Regions from separate parts of the Homo sapiens genome. Here regions 2, 3 and 4 are each linked to region 1. The links are contacts of gene promoters, found by promoter capture Hi-C in blood cells and fetal thymus (Javierre and others, 2016). All regions are on one chromosome and are shown on one strand. The core of a region is centred on a gene start or on the middle of the fragment in contact, and the rest is flanking DNA. Distances in the headings are between cores, read along the strand shown. Region 1 has its middle 9.6 kb from the start of LENG8-AS1. Region 2 holds the start of PRKCG (protein kinase C gamma). Region 3 holds the start of TMEM86B (transmembrane protein 86B). Region 4 holds the start of BRSK1 (BR serine/threonine kinase 1).

Region 1 (4,123 bases), core at 263-2,762:
TTTTTTTTTTTGTTTTTGAGACGGAGTCTCGCTCTGTCACCCAGGTTGGAGTGCAGTGGCGCGATCTCGGCTCACTGCAAGCTCCGCCTCCCAGGTTCATGCCATTCTCCTGCCTCAGCCTCCCAAGTAGCTGGGACTACAGGCGCCCGCCAACACGTCCGGCTAATTTTTTGTATTTTTAGTAGAAACGGGGTTTCACCGTGTTAGCCAAGATGGTCTCGATCTCCTGACCTCGTGATCCGCCCGTCTCGGCCTCCCAAAGTGCTGGGAATACAGGCGTGAGCCACCGCGCCCGGCCAAGACCCTGCCTCTTAAAAAAAAAAAAAAAAAAAGACAAAAAACAGAGAGAGGCTGGCTGCGGTGGCTCATGACTGTAATCCCAGCATTTTGAGAGGCCAAGGTGGGTGGATCCCTTGAGGCCAGGAGTTTGAGAGCAGAGTGGCCAACATGGTGAAACCCCGTCTCTACTTAAAGAAAAAAAAAATTAGCTGGGCATGGTGGCACAGGTCTGTAAGCCCAGCTACTCGGGAGGCTGAGGCAGGAGAATTGCTTGAACCCGGGAGGTGGAGGTTGCACCACTGTACTCCAGCCTGGGAGATCAAGTGAGACTCCATCTCAGAAAAAAACAAAACAAAACAAAACAAACCAGAGAAATTAGGAGAATATTTGTATATTGTCTGCATGTCATGTATCTGGGTAGGGAAAATGGGGAGGGAGGAGTTTAAGCAGGAGATCATAAAACCAGAAAGGAAAAGATAGCTTAGTTGGCAAATTATAGATTGAAAAACATACCGTAAAGTCAAATGGCAAATTGACAGACTGGGGAACAGTGAGTGTGTGCGTGCGTGTGTGTGTGTGTGTGTGTGTGTGTGTGTGTGTGTGTATGTTAACAGTTATGATGCAGAAATGTTATTCTTAAAAGATATAATCTACAAAAGCTTTCATAAACTAAGAAAAAGACAACCCATTTAAAAGTAATCAATTGAGTTGAATACTCAATAAAAATTCCAACATCAGTAAACAGACAAAAAGATTCAAACTCTAATAATTGGGAAATGCAATTTGAAAGAATGAGAAACTACACTTTTTCACTACCTAGACACAATGAAATTAACAAGAGTGGTGATGTCCTGGGCGGGCGAGGACCTAGAGGAACAGGCACTCAAAACACTTCTCCTGAGGCTGTGAGCTGCCACCATCCCTTGAAAAAAAAAAAAAATGCGCTTGTATGTGATCAGATCAAAACTGCATACACCCCATGCCCCAACAATCCTGCTTTTGGGAATTGATTTACAGAAAAAGACACACAGGCTTCTGAAGACTTCTATTTAGAGCTGCCTGTTACAACGATACCACTTTGATCAGCTAAACCCTGAAAACAAACATGCACAAAAAGAGAAGTCCAATAACTGACTGCACAGCAGGGCTCTCTGGAAGAAACCAGCTCTTGGCTGAGTTGAGGATGTGAGGGAAAAGCCTGGCAGAGAGGAGCTATCAGAGCAGGGTGTGGCAGACAGCAGTGGCAGAGTGGACTGAAGGAGAGGGGCCTGCACAGTGAAGGGCCCAGCTTATCATTCAAGGCACCCCAGGCCACCATCCTGGCCCTGCTTTTCATGACCTTCACGGATATGGGAAAGTCACTTGACCCGTTAGACCTCGGTTGCCTCTTTGATCAAACGGGTATCAGAAATCCAAAATTCCAAAATCCACAGATCCAAAGAGCTCCAAAGTCAAGCCATCCCCAAGCTCATTGGGCAGGAAAACCTGACCTGTGTTGGTGGGAGATGACTTACAGACATGACTGACACGCTTGGTGTGAACGTTCACATACTTCCCTGCAGAAAAGTTAACCAGGCTGCTGCACACTGCTGTGCTGAGCACTGAGGGTGCCGTGTGCCCTGTGGAGTAGAGATCATATTGCCTTTGCAACTGAAAAATCCTGAATCTCAACACACACCTGGCTCCGAGGGGATCGAGTTGGTGCTTGGTGACCCACAGTGCCAGATGCTGGTGTACAGCGTGGGGCCTGCTGCTGCTCTGTGCCTGTCAATCATTTCTATTTTGTGTACTGCAAGGAGCGTTCAGAGGAAGCTTTAGATATGTGGGCCTGACGGTGGGAATAAAAATCAACTGCAATTTCAGGGAGGGGTTCTGGGGGCCACATGCGTTCACTCACTTTTTCCTAACCATGTGGGCTGTCTGCCCCAGGCCCGGCCCTGCTGCTATGCTGACTTCTTTCCTCTCAAACACTGCCCTCTAGTGCCCCTGAGCCCATTTCCCAAGCACAGGCATCCGCTGGCTGTTGGGCGGCTGCAAAGTACCTTGAGACTCAGCTGCTTGATCTCCCATGCCAATGAGCCTGGGGGTGATCTCTCAACAAGAAGTTGGCCGGGCACCCTGGCTCACGCCTGTAATCCCAGCACTGTGGGAGGCTGGGGCAGGCGATCACCTGAGGTCAGGAGTTTGAGACCAGCCTGGCCAACACGGTGAAACCCCATCTCTACTAAACACAAAAATTAGCCGGGCATGGTGGCGGGCGCCTGCAATCCCAGCTACTCAGGAGGCTGAGGCAGGAGAATCACCTGAACCCGGGATGCGGAGCTTGCAGTGAGCCGAGATCGCGCCACTGCACTCCAGCCTGGGCGACAGAGCAAGACTCCGTCTCAAAAAAAAAAAAAAAAAAAAAAAAGGCATTTTACCCAAACTTTACAAAAGGAAAATCCAGTGTTATTTTTAGAATGTTACCTATGGGGGCTTCCACTGCGACCAGGATGGAGTCACAGAGACTGGACTTGACCCCCCAAAAATAGAGTAAATACAAGAAAACAACAGTGGTCAAGACTCTACCAAGAAAGTGATCCCTGAGGAACGGGAAACATCAAGGCAAGCCCTAAAATTGCCGCTGGGTCCTGTTGCAAGTTTCTAGACCACGGGACAGGGAGGGAAGACTGAGGCGGAGCTGGGAGGACTCCGTGAGCAGAGGAGACAAAGCAGGGAGTCTGAGCTTTGTTCTTGAGCTTTGTTTTGAGAATGAAGTTATGGGCCGGGTGCGATGGCTCACGCCTGTAATCCCAGCACTTTGGGAGACCGAGGTGGGTAGATCACCTGAACTCAGGTGTTCGAGACCAGCTTTGCCAACATGGTGAAACCCTGTCTCTACTAAATATATACAAATTCGCCGGGTGTAGTGGTGGGTGCCTGTAGTCCCAGCTACTCGGGAGCCTGAGGCAGGGGAATCTCTTGAACCTGGGAGGCGAAGGTTGCAGTGAGCCAAGATCGCGCCATTGCACTCCAGCCTGGGCAGCAGAGCGAGACTCCATCTCAAAAAATAAATAAATAAAAATAAAAATAAATTATCTTGGACTTCCAGCCTCCAGAACTGTGAGAAATAAGTGTTTGTTGTTTTTGAGCCACCAGTCCATGGTCCTCTGTTACTGCAGACTAGAATGCCAGGGAAAGAACCACCTGGAGGGACTGAAGCAAATAGCGCCTGAGTTCTGGGGACTCACACAGGCCTTGACAAGGCGCTGTTCCTGCCAGAAGAACCTCATAACTGAAGGAACACTGGGTAGAACACGGAGAGGGTCTTACATCAGCCGTGGGGAATAAGCAGCCCTAACCTGTTAAACACTGTTCTGGTCCTGCCTGAGGAATCTTAAAAGCAAAACCTGAAAGGATCAAGCTGCTTCCAAGTAAGGTGACTGCATTCTCAAACAAAGCTCAAGAATATTTATAGGCATACAAAAGTAACGAGTGCTCGACAAGGTAATACTGATATTGTCTAGTATCCAACAACAAAGTCACCAAATATGCAAAAAGCAGGAAAATAGGGCACATCATGAGGATAAAAATCATTCAACTGAAACGGACCCAGGAGTTAGAATTAGTAGGTAAGAACATTAGAACAACTATTATACTGTACTCCATACGTTCCAAAAGTTCTTTACAGATACGGAAGATATAAAAAAACTCAAACTGGATATCAACAGATAGAAATTACAATGTCTGAAATAAATAATGTACTGGCTGGAACAGCAGATTTTTGTTTTTTGGGGGAGAGTCTTGCTCTGTTGCCCAGGCTGTAGTGCAGTGGCATGATCTAGGCTCACTGCAACTTCCACCT
Region 2 (3,911 bases), core at 1,218-3,717, 560 kb before region 1:
CGCACAGAGAGGATGCCGAAGCCAGCGAGATCTAGAGAGAGGGAGACAGGGATTGAATCACAGAGACACTTAGAGGGAGGGAGAGACCTCAAAGACAGAGAGATTCACAGGGCCAGAGAGACACGTAGAGTGGGTCAGAGAAGAGGACAGAGGACAGAGACATAGAAAAGACAGGAGGGAGAGAGACTGAATCACAGAGACACAGGGAGAGAGGGAGAGACCTCAGAGATGGAGAGAGACTCACAGGGCCAGATAGACACATGGAGTGGGTCAGAGAAGGGGACAGAGAGAGAGACACAGAAAAGGGAAGAGGGAGAGAGACTGAATCACAGAGACACAGAGAGGGAAGTCTCTATCTAGAGACCCTCGACAGAGATTCCTAGAGCCAGAGACAGAGATTCAGAGAGCCAGAGACACAGAGAGATTCATAGAGACATATAGAGAGATTCAGAGAGCCTGAATCACAGAGATTCACAGAGCCAACGAGACAAACAGAGAGATTCATAGAGCCAGAGACACAGATTCGGAGAGTCAGAGAGACATAGAAAGATTCATAGAGCCAGAGACACAGAGATTCAGAGAGTCAGAGAGACATAGAGAGACATTCATAGAGCCAGAGACACAGAGAGATTCATAGACATATAGAGAGATTCAGAGAGCCTGAATCACAGAGATTCACAGAGCCAAAGAGACAAACAGAGAGATTCATAGAGCCAGAGACACAGAGGGATTCGGAGAGTCAGAGAGACATAGAAAGAGATTCATAGAGCCAGAGACACAGAGATTCATAGAGACATAGAGATTCATAGAGCCAGAGACACAGAGATTCAGAGAGTCAGAGAGACATAGAAAGACATTCATAGAGCCAGAGACACAGAGAGATTCAGAGTCAGAGAAACATAGAGATTCATAGAGCCAGAGACACAGAGAGATTCAGAGTCAGAGAGACATAGAGAGACATTCATAGAGCCGGAGACACAGAGAGATTCAGAGTCAGAGAGACATAGATTTATAGAGCCAGAGACACAGATTCAGGGAGTCAGAGAGACATAGAGAGACATTCATAGAGCCGGAGACACAGATTCAGAGTCAGAGAGACATAGACATTCATAGAGCCAGAGACACAGATTCAGAGAGTCAGAGAGATGAATAGATTCAGAGAGCCAGAGACACAGGGAGAGTGAATCACAGACACAGAGGGACGGGGAGATCCCCAGAAACAGAAAGAGATTCATAGAGCCAGAGAGACAAATAGAGATTGGGTCAGAGAGAAAGGGACAGAGACAGAGACAGAGAAGAGAAGAGGGAGAGAGATTGGGTCAGAGAGAAAGGGACAGAGACAGAGAAGAGAAGAGGGAGAGAGAGACTGAGTCATAGACAGGAGAGAGACCCCCCTAGCATCAGAGAGAGAGAGAGAGATCAACAGAGCCAGAGAGGGACAAGTACAGAGAAACAGATGGAACCAGAGAGATATAGGAAGAGACAAACAAAAACAGAGACGGAGTTGCAGAACCGGAGGAAGGGAGAGAGACAGAGACAAAGGCATTTATAAAGACGGGTGGAGGTGAGGAGAGAGAGGGAGAGACAGGGGCAAGCATTTAGAGAGTGACTCCCAGAGAGGAAGACAGAGACGGACTCCCAAAGAGATCAAGTTGCAGAGGGAGGGGGAGACAGAGTCACAGCCTGAGAGAGAATAGAGATTCACAGAGCCAGAGAGACAAAGACAGGGAAAGAAACAAACTCAGGGAGACAGAGGCGGAAGAATTTATCAGACGTAGAGGGAGAGACAGAGGGAGACTGATTCACAGTGAGGCAGACCAAGACCCCGAGAAGAACCACGACACCAAGACCCAGAGATGGCGACAGATACAGATGGAGACACACAGCAGAGGAAATAGAGAAATAGAAAGAAATAGAAACAGCATTTCTCGGAGACAGGGAAAAGAAAACAGATCCACTGAGAGGCAGAAACAGAGACACATCGAGAAAGCTCGCTCCAGGAATAGAGGGAGAGGGACAGAGGTCACAAGAAAGACACACGCAGGCAGAGAGCTACACAAATAATGGAGAGGCCAGGGGAGGAAATAAAGACTCAGCCGGCATCGGAGAAAGTGAGAACCTTAGCGCCCTGCCTGTCCACTGCTGGACCCCTAGCGTGGAGCATAAAGTTTGTTGAAGGAAGGAGAGGGGCAGGGTCAGACACAGGGACCCCAGGGCGCCCACAGGACACACGAGGCACCCTAGTGGGGGAGGAACGCGGGGCAGGATGACAGATTGCAGGGTGGTGGGGGGGAGCCAGGCTCAGAGGATGCCCCTCCCTCCAGCCAGCCCCCGGAGTGGGTGTGTGCACGTGTGGGGGGCGGGGAGGGAGGACATTTGTCCCGTGTCTCCGGGAGGGGAGCGCCTTTAAGCCGAAACCCCGCCCTCTCGGTCGTCCTGGCAACGCCTCCCCCAACCCGGGGCTCCCACATTTCAGCAGGTGCCGGAGCTGGAGCTCCCACCGCCGCCGCCCGTGCCTCCGGCTGCCGGCGCCCCTGCCTTTGGCTCTTCCTCCCCACTCGCCCGCTCCCCCTGGCGGAGCCGGCGCGCCCGGGGTGCCGCTCCCTGCCTGGCGCGCTCCGCACCTGGAGGTGCCTTGCCCCTCTCCTGCCCACCTCGGAATTTCCCTGTGGCTCCTTTGATCCTTCGAGTCTCCAGCTCCTCTCCCTTCCACCTGTTTCCCCCAAGAAAGGCAGGATCCTGGTCCCTGCTACGTTTCTGGGGCCATGGCTGGTCTGGGCCCCGGCGTAGGCGATTCAGAGGGGGGACCCCGGCCCCTGTTTTGCAGAAAGGGGGCCCTGAGGCAGAAGGTGGTCCACGAAGTCAAGAGCCACAAGTTCACCGCTCGCTTCTTCAAGCAGCCCACCTTCTGCAGCCACTGCACCGACTTCATCTGGTGAGGGAAGGGGGCTGGGGGACTGGGGGACGAGGGGACTAGGGGTGCAGACTCCTATCACGCCGACCCCTGTGGAAGGAAGAAGGAGGGGGCTGTAGTCCCGACTCCCAGGTTCTAGGATGGCCAGGGAACGCTGGGAGCTTCGACTCCTGGGTTTCAGTGAGGAGGAGGCTGGTTCCTGGAGTGCTGGGTCCGAGGGAGGAGGAGGCTGGAGGACAGAGGTCCTGGAGTCTTGGGTCTGAGGGAGGAAGGGCCTGGGGGGCTGGGAGCCTGGATTCCTGGGTCTGAAGGAGGAAGAAACTGGGGGCTGAACTCCAGTCTAAGGGAAGAAGGGCTGGGGGCCAAAATTTCTGGGTTCTAGAAAGAGGAGGTGGCCGGGGCTTGGACACCTGGGCCCTGCGGGAGGAGGGTCAGAGAGCGCAGGCCCCCTGTGGCTCGCAGAGGTTGGGGGTCCAGGTACCCCTTTCTGCACTGACCTAGGATCCCTGACTCTTCCAGGGGTATCGGAAAGCAGGGCCTGCAATGTCAAGGTAAGAGCTGGGGACCGGGGCTCCTGGGACCCTCAGGAGGGTGGAGGCTGGGGCCCCACAGCTGAGGCTGCTTGACACACGTGTTCTCTGGTCCCCAGAGAGGCGCGGGGGAGCCCGGGGCGGGGGGTGTGGCAGAGACACAGCCTGTGGTGGGGAGGGAGCTTTGATGGTGGGGCCACCGCGGAGGTGGTGCTGGGGGCCCCTCCCTCGGCCGGCTCCAGGTGGGGACAGATATTTGGAGAATCTGTTGCCATGGGAACATGGAGATTTGGAAAAGGGGAGCTGAAGGGGGGAAGGGGGAGGGGGCTGGAGATGCAAAGTCAGAGCCCCCCCCCACCCCAGGCTGCCGTCGCCATGACAACACCAGCCGTCCTAGGCAGGGGCAGGCCGGGTGGGGTCACCAATGGGCGAGTGGGGGCCGGGCGGGGCCGGCAGTTCTGGGGGGC
Region 3 (3,905 bases), core at 1,406-3,905, 790 kb after region 1:
CCTCCCTCCTCCAAGACCCCTCATCCTCAAGCCTCCCACCCTTCTCCCGATACTGCATGTGACTGCAGCGGGTTGTATCCCCTAGAAAGATATGTCCAAGTCCTAACCCCAGATACCTCTGCAGGTGACACTACTTGGAAATAGGGGCTTTGCAGACATACTTAAGGATCTTGAGATAGAATCACCCTGGGTTTAGGGTGGGCCCTAAATCCAATGACCTGTGTCCCTAGAAGGATGCGGACACAGAGGGAGGCTGCCAGTTGAAGACAGTCACATGAAGACGGAGAGACACAGCCACAGGCCGATGGAAGCCAGGGATTCCCGGGAGCCTCCAGAAGCCGAGAGGGCAAGGACGGATTCTTCCCTGGAGCCTCAAGAGGGACCATGGGCCGGAAAACACCCGGATTTTGGACTTTGGGTCTCCAGAACTGCAGGAGAGTCCATTCATCTTGTTTCAAAGCATCTGGCTTGGGGTAATTTGTGACAGCAGCCTCAGGAAACTAACACAAAGACCAAACAGTCCTCTTGGCTCAGTTCTGCACAATCCTCACTTTATCCCCCCGAATCCCCCCACCAGAGGGCCATGGAGGGTCCCACTGGGCACCAGGCCTGGTCCATGGGGAGCGACAAAGAACCTTCTGCTGTCATTAACCGCGATGGTTTATCACAATCATGACCCTCCCCGAGGCCTCTCCTACGGTAACAGCAACATCTACGGTTCCACACCCACAGGGAAAACGGATTCAGAGCAGCAGCAGGGGGCGGGCAGGCTGTGGGGCCGACAGTGAACATGGAGGCAGGCTGGTGGCTGGGAGGGCTCCATGTGGGCCTGGCTGAGGAGCCAGGGATCTGGAGTCAGAACCGGGGGAAGGCAGCTGGAACCCAGTAGTGGACTTGGAATTCCGCAAATCGTCCTCAAACGTCTTCAGCCAGAAGCGACGGCGGCAGCGGCGCCTGCAGACAGGCGTCAGGAAGCTTCGCTGCTGAGGGTATTTCTCAGGCTGGGCTGGGCTGGGAGGCCCAGGTCCTTGCAGGAGGAGAGGGCCTGAACACCGGCCCTTCAAGCTCCCTAGTCAGTCAGTCTTGGGCACCGGGCTCCTGAGGGCTGACAGTGTGATGAGGAGCTGGGCAGCATAGTAGGTGGTCATGATCACCAGGTGGGCATGGGGCAGGGGCTGGGCGAAGGTGTCCCAGGCCAGCACGCCATCAGAGAGCGTGAAGAGCAGCGCGCCCCAGCCGGCACTCCCGCCCTGGGCCAGGCCGCGCCACAGCATGGCCATCAGGATCAGCCCATAGGCTGCCACCGGCAGGACCATATCCGGCTCGAGGTGCTGGAGCACAAGGCTGAGGTAGGGGCCAGGGGCCAGGATGATGAGCAGCAGCAGGCCGGGCTGCAGGGGAGAGAAGCCGAAGGCCCAGACGTAGAGGAGGTGGGCGGTGGCAAAGGCGGCCATGCCTGGCGGGAGAGGGGTGGGGTACCAGTGAGGAAGGCCCATCCTGGGAATGGCCCCGAGGTCACCCCTCAGGGCCTAAGAGAAGGACCATCCCAGAGCACCAGGCCCCACCCTGGCCGAGCCTCCTTGCAGGTCTCCCCACATGCAGTGTCCATCCTTGCTCTGCTCAGAACTGCCAGGAGGCCCCACCTTCCCTTGGCCTCCAAAGCCCCATGGCCTCCAGCTCTCCAGCCACTCTGCGCCAGCCACCCTGGCCTGCTGGGCTACAAGCACCTGACACGTCCCTGCCCCGGAGCCTTTACACTCGCCCTTCCTCCACACAGGCATACAGCCCTTCAGCTCTGCCCAAATGTGACTTCCTCAGTGAGGCCTTCCTCAGCAACCCTGCTTCAAACTGCAGTACCTCCAGCAGGTCCTCACTGCCCTCTGCGCCACCTCAGCTACTGCCCTAACACCGCCTGCCCCCACCCCTCGCTGGAGCGTGAGCTGCCTCGGTCACGGCTGCGCCCCCCACTGTGCCTTTGACCACTGGAGCTCTCACAGGAGCCCTCTGCACCCAGGCTCCCATCCAAGTGCTGGGGCCTCTCTCACACGGGCATCTGGAAAGCGTCACAGCACCTTCCACTCACCAGGGACGAAGGCTGCCGGCCAGATGAGGCAAGCGTCCCCCACAGCCGAGCACACAAGGGCTCCCTGGAGGAGCTGGGTGTAGCCCCCGCTTGGGGACATGACCCACAGGAACCCAGCCAGGCAGAGGACGGGCAGGCACTTGACCAGGGCAGCGAACCAGGACAGCTGGTCCTCGGGAATCCAGAGGCAGAAGTACACGCAGCAGGAGAGGATGAAGGGGCTCAGCCACCTGCAGACATCTGGGCGCTTTGGGGAGTGGGGAGCTACTGAGCCGAAACCCAGCCCAGCCCCCATTCTTGGGACTCAGATCTCATGGCTCCTGTCCCACCCCCACCTGGGACCCCAGCTGTACAGGCTGGACCCATTCAGGGACCAGGCTGCCAGAACCCAGCTTCCCAGGGCCCAACCAACTCAAGGACAGCAGCTCCCAGACCCGCCGGCTGCTGGGGTTCCAGGGCCCTGTCCCCCCAGCCCCAGGCACAGCTCAGAAGGCTCTCACCTGGGCTGAGCAGTGAGTCTTCAGGGTCTGCCCCGCTTTGCCAGCGTCCATGCTGGCCTGATAGCCCCAGAGCGACCTAATCTGGGAGCGAGTGGCTTCAGGGGGTGGAGGGGAGGGCTCATGGTTACACGTTAACCCAAGGAGCGTCCTGTGGACTCTGTGACTGATAACAGGGCCCAGGGAGATGTTGTCCTCACCCTGGGGATGGCCCTGCCTGGCGCCCGCTGATAAAGCACTGTTGGCACTGGGGGTCCCTCTGCCCTAGCCTGCTGGGACATGGCTTCCTCCTCCTATCTGCCTGGGGAGGTTAGGCCCACAAATGCCTGTCCCCTTGTCCTGGGCCCCAACAATCAGAAGAGATGGGGTGCAGAATTCCAACAGCCACCCCATCATGGGAAGCGGGAGAGGGGCTGGCTGGCAGGAGTGCCCCTGGAGGGATGGGAAGGCGAGTCTGTCCTTCACTTGCTGCCCTAGCCGTCTCCCTCCCTGCTCCATGAAACCTTTCCTCATTCTGCTCAACCCCACCAAGCCCTCAGGGGCTCCACCACAAACACTGCTTCAATGGGTGACCAGGAGGGACCACCACGAATGCGGGGAACAAGCACCCTCTCCTGTTAGCTGAGCGAGCCCCCAGGTGACCTCCAAGCCAACTGCCACCCCAGTGAGGACGCTGTCCTCATGGCCCGGTCCACACGCTCCGGTTTCCCAGCGCCGCTCACCGGTGCCACTCGCTGCACACGCAGCCTACACTTCTACCTTCTACCTGAAAGACTCAGACCTACTGGGCGCCAGTACCCAGCCTCAATGCTGGGCTTGGTTACTGGGGGTAAGCAGGGGCAGGAGCAGGGATTTGAGCCTGTCGGTGGCTTCTATCCTCTGCCCAAGGCCCTGCCCACAGGTGGGGTAGACCTGGCAGGAGCCCTCACAGCCAGTGCCTGGCCCAGCCTGGGGCCTCTGCAGCCACAGGGCTCCCTCTGGCAGGACAGTGTGGGGGCAGACTGGGTCAGGAGCACCCCCAGCCTCTGGGGTGCAGGGATAATACAGGCTCCCCACCCCGCATCCCAGAACGTAAGGTCTGACCAGCAGAATCGTAAACTGCCTTCCTTTATTTATATTTGCAATATGAAATAGAAGCTCGGCACAAACGCACGCACACTCACACCAGCCTGGGAGGAGGGAGCTGGGGACAAGGTCACTTGGCAACAGGGCTGGGACCTCAGACCCTCAAGGCCCCTGGGGCTGTTGCCGGGGAGGCCCCTGCTCCCCAGAGCCGGACTGGCCTGGTTGAAAGTGCAGGGTCTGGGCAAAGGCACGGCCCCCAC
Region 4 (3,904 bases), core at 307-2,806, 850 kb after region 1:
ACGCCTAAAATTGTACCCTGCTCAACAGGCCCCTCTTAACCCCCTTCCCTGCTGTAGTCACCTCCTCAGCACGGACATGATTATCTAACACACCATACATTTTGCCTATTGACCTTGCTGATCATCTGTTTCATCCACCAGCATGGAAGCTCCACAGGACAGGCCTTTTTGCTGATTTAGGTCACTGCCACGTTCTTACCAACAGGAACAGTGCCTGGCTGAGATTTGGCACTCATTAAAGATGTGTGGACTCAAGGTGTTGAATGGGGGACTGGGAAATCTCACAGGAGCCAATAGGCTCCTGTGTGCACTTTATTTTATTTTATTTTTGTTAGAGACAGGGCCTCACTCTGTTGCTCAGGCTGGAGTGCAGTGGTGCAAACGTAGCTCACTGCAGCCTAGAACTCACTGACTCAAGCCTCAGCCTCCCAAGTAGCTGGGACTACAGGCACATGCCACCATGCCCGGCTAATTTTTAAAAAAATTTTTGTAGGGATGGGGTCTCACTGTGTTGCCCAGGCTGATCTTCCCACCTCTGTCTCCCAAAGTATTGGGATTACAGGCATGAGCCACCTTGCCCAGCCCTGGGTGTGCTTTACAGGGGACTTGAGAATTAAATGGGTGTCTAACACTTGCGGGTACATGACATAGAGGGATCTATGGTTTATGCGGAAAGCTAATGGGGGCAGGCGGGTTACTCACAGGCAGAGCACATGCTTGTGGACCTGCTACAGTGGGGATGTATGGGCTGTACTGGGGTCCACATGAAGATATAAAGGACCCTATGACGAGCACAGAGAATATATGGGGGTCTAAAAACATAACACAGGGAAACTGAGGGGGTTCTGGAAGCTTCTCTGTAAAGAGAATCCAAAATCACTCTGGGCTGTGGGTAGATATGGGGCCTTGACATTGGTGGGGACACAGACTTACCCTTACCCTGAATGGGTGGCCTTAGGGGGCTGGGGAAACAGACATGAATTTTGGGTCAGCAACTCCAAGAATTCTTTCCCCTCTCTGTCTCTGTCTCCCTCCATATGTCCCCACCTCTCCCCAGCACGTGTCCCTCCACCTGTGTGTACCCCCGGCCCTCTCTACAGCTCCATCTGCGCCCCCTCTCCCCCACCTCTCTGGTTGGTCTTCCTCTCTCTGTCTCTCTGAATCTCTGACTCTCTCCATCCCTCTGTCGGCTTCCAGCAGCTTTCTCTCCCTCTCCCTGTCTGTTTTCCCGGCTTGCCATTCCTTCCTTCTCTTCTGTCCCTGTCCATCTCTGCCCTTCCTCCCTCTCTGCCTCAGCCTGTCTCTGGTGGTCTCCATCCCTCTGGCGTCTCTGCCTGTCTCCCGTCTCTGTGTCAGCCAGCATCTCTCTTTGTGTATCTCCATCTCTGCCCCATCTGTTGGGTCCTCTCTCTCTCTCTCCATCCTTCCCTCCATCCTCTCTCCTGCATCCTCCCACCTCCTCTCCATCCCTCCAGCTGGAGGCCCGCCCCCTGCCCCCCCTCGCTCCCCCTCCCCCCTCCGAAAGGGTTAACTTTGGGGAAGGGCCCGGAGTCCCCGGATGGTGATGTCAGCGTGCCGGAGAGAAAGGACGAGGTGGCGGGGGGAGGCGGAGAGGAGGAGGAGGCGGAGGAGAGAGGGCGCGTGGGGGGGCGGGGGGGACCTCGGCCTGCAGCATCCGCCGGCCCGCACCTCAGACCCCCCCGGCGGGGGGAGGCGCAGGAAGCGGGGGGCCGGCCAGAAACGGGCTGGGGAGGGGGGGCCCCGCAGCCCCCCTGGGCCATGCTGACTCCCGGGGCCTGACCCCCCCGGGCCAGCCCCCCCTCCCCCAGCTCCGCGGCCCGCCGACTGGGGGGGGCCAGCCCAGCCCCCTGGGGACCCCCGGAGAGGTGGGGGGCAGCCGGGGGGGCCGGGACGGAGCGGTCGCCGGCCCCCACCGGAGAGACGGGGCGACGGCCGCAGGGGGGGCGGCCGGGGGACCGGTCGGGCCGGGACCAAGGGCACCATGTCGTCCGGGGCCAAGGAGGGAGGTGGGGGCTCTCCCGCCTACCACCTCCCCCACCCCCACCCCCACCCACCCCAGCACGCCCAATATGTGGGCCCCTATCGGCTGGAGAAGACGCTGGGCAAAGGACAGACAGGTGAGCCTAGCAGAAGGGGACACCTGGGGCGGGGGGCAGGGTGGAGGTGGCGGCAGAGGCGGGACTCAGGGTATTCAAATGGCAGGGGCTGGCTGCCCAGACCCCTGGGCCCCTCATAGAGAAGGGACTTGGGATTCAGACTCCTGGGTCCCTGGATGGAGGGGGTGGGGGGCGCAGACTCAGGTCCTGGAGGAGAGGGGCTGGGGGCCTGGACTCCTGGGTCTGAGGGAGGAGGGGCTGGGCACTGGACTCCTAGGTCTGAGGGAGGAGGGCCTGGGGGCCTGGACTCCTGGGTTTCAGGGAGGAGGGCCTGGGGGTCTGGACTCCTGGGTTTCAGGGAGGAGGGGCTGTGCTTGGACTCCGGAGTCTGAGGGAGGAGAGGCTGGTGGCCTGCACTCCTGGGTCTGAAGGAGAAGGGCTTGGGGGCCTGGACTCCAGGGTCTGAGGGAGGAGGGGCTGGGGGTCTGGACTTCTGGGTCTGAGGGAGGAGGGGACTGGGGTCCTGGACTTTTGGGTTTGAGGGAGGAGGGACTGCGGTCCTGGACTTTCAGGTCTGAGGGAGGAGGGCCTGGGGGCCTGGACTCCTGAGTATGAAGGAAGAGGGTCTGGGGTCTGGACTCCTGGGTCTGAGGGAGGAGGGGCAGGGGTGCTGAACTCCTGGGTCTGAAGGAGGAGGGGCTGGGGGCCTGGACTCCTGAGTCTGAGGGAGGAGGGCGGTCGGAACCTTGAGTGTTGGGACAGGGAGTTTGGGGCCCCAGTGCTCCAGTCCCCATAGGGGCAGAGGCTGGAGGGGCTCCAGGGCCAGGGAGGGGATGGAGGCGGCCTGCAGAGTGGGGCCGGGCTGGGACCTGAGGTTCTTGCTGCAGTACAGCTGCAGACCGGGGTGCAGTGCATCCATCCTGGGAAACCTCTTCCCTCCCCACTGTCCTCTGGCCTCCAGTTCTCCAGGCAGCAGGTTGGGGTGACAGGGGCCGTGGGGCCTAAGACATTCTCCCCTTCTCTGGCATGCTGGCTCAGAGTGGGAAACAGGATGGAGGGTGGGAAGGTGGGCTGCAGCAGGCGCGTCTCCTGGAGCGGCTGTGGAAAGGGCGTTCATCCTCTGCTGTTGCTGAACGCTGGCCACCGGCCGCGGCCTCCTTCCTGCCGGATGGATGGTGGGTGGAGGTGACATGGGAGCTGAACGCCCAGAGTCTCTATGAAGCTCAGGGCCAGAGCTGGCAGGAGTGGGGACCGACTGGGCCGTAACTGGGAGCTGAGACCCTAGGGAAAAGGAGAGGGTCAAAGTCCCAGATCCTGAGTGGTAAGAGTGTGAAGGTGTTGCTGACCTGAATTCCTGAGTTACAGGAGAAGAAGGGGTCAGACCTGGACTGGGTCTGAGGGAGGAGGGGCTGGGCCTGGAGTGCTGGGTCTGAGGGAGGAGGAACTGGGGGTCTGGAGTGCTGAGTCTAAGGGAGGAGGGGCTGGGGGTCTGGAGTGCTGGGTCTGAGGGAGGAGGGGCTGGGGGCCTGGAGTGCTGGGTCTGAGGGAGGAGGGGCTGGGGGCCTGGAGTGCTGGGTCTGAGGGAGGAAGGGGCTGGGGGGGCTGGATTCCTGGGTCTGAGGGAGGAGGGGCTGGGGTCTGGACTCCTGGGTCTGAGGGAGGATGGAATGGGGGCCTGGACTCCTGGGTCTGAGGGAGGAGGGGCTGGGGGTCTGGACGCCTGGGCCTGCAGCTTTAGGGGCTAGTCAGGGCTAGGTCTGTGGCTTTGGGGGCTCAGGTCCTGGAGT

The links. The method cuts DNA at HindIII sites, captures the fragments that hold promoters and counts their contacts. A CHiCAGO score of 5 or more calls a contact.
Region 2: a contact is called between the fragment with the promoter of PRKCG here and a fragment that was not itself captured in region 1, in 1 of 17 cell types (monocytes). The highest score is 5.1, in monocytes.
Region 3: the fragment with the promoter of TMEM86B here is called in contact with a fragment that was not itself captured in region 1 in 1 of 17 cell types (monocytes); the score reaches 5.7 in monocytes.
Region 4: a contact is called between the fragment with the promoter of BRSK1 here and a fragment that was not itself captured in region 1, in 1 of 17 cell types (fetal thymus). The highest score is 5.1, in fetal thymus.

What each region holds. Positions count from the first base shown.
Region 1 is chr19:54,437,356-54,441,478 of GRCh38, forward strand. No RefSeq gene overlaps it. Among named protein-coding and RNA genes, the nearest start is that of LENG8-AS1, 9.6 kb to the right of the region's middle. The HindIII fragment of the contact is 1,153 bases long and covers 937-2,089 here.
Region 2 is chr19:53,879,730-53,883,640 of GRCh38, forward strand. It overlaps PRKCG (protein kinase C gamma), which reads left to right and starts at 2,468. Exons shown (of 18, transcript NM_002739.5): 1 at 2,468-2,935; 2 at 3,434-3,465. The coding sequence starts at 2,766. RefSeq lists an enhancer at 2,920-3,471. The HindIII fragment of the contact is 17,886 bases long and covers 1-3,911 here.
Region 3 is chr19:55,226,108-55,230,012 of GRCh38, forward strand. TMEM86B (transmembrane protein 86B) reads right to left here and starts at 2,656. Exons shown (of 3, transcript NM_173804.5): 1 at 2,584-2,656; 2 at 2,084-2,330; 3 at 531-1,456. The coding sequence starts at 2,634. The coding sequence ends at 1,074. It overlaps PPP6R1 (protein phosphatase 6 regulatory subunit 1), which reads right to left. Exons shown (of 24, transcript NM_014931.4): 24 at 3,672-3,905. The HindIII fragment of the contact is 5,765 bases long and covers 974-3,905 here.
Region 4 is chr19:55,282,441-55,286,344 of GRCh38, forward strand. It overlaps BRSK1 (BR serine/threonine kinase 1), which reads left to right and starts at 1,557. Exons shown (of 19, transcript NM_032430.2): 1 at 1,557-2,138. The coding sequence starts at 2,003. The HindIII fragment of the contact is 8,428 bases long and covers 851-3,904 here.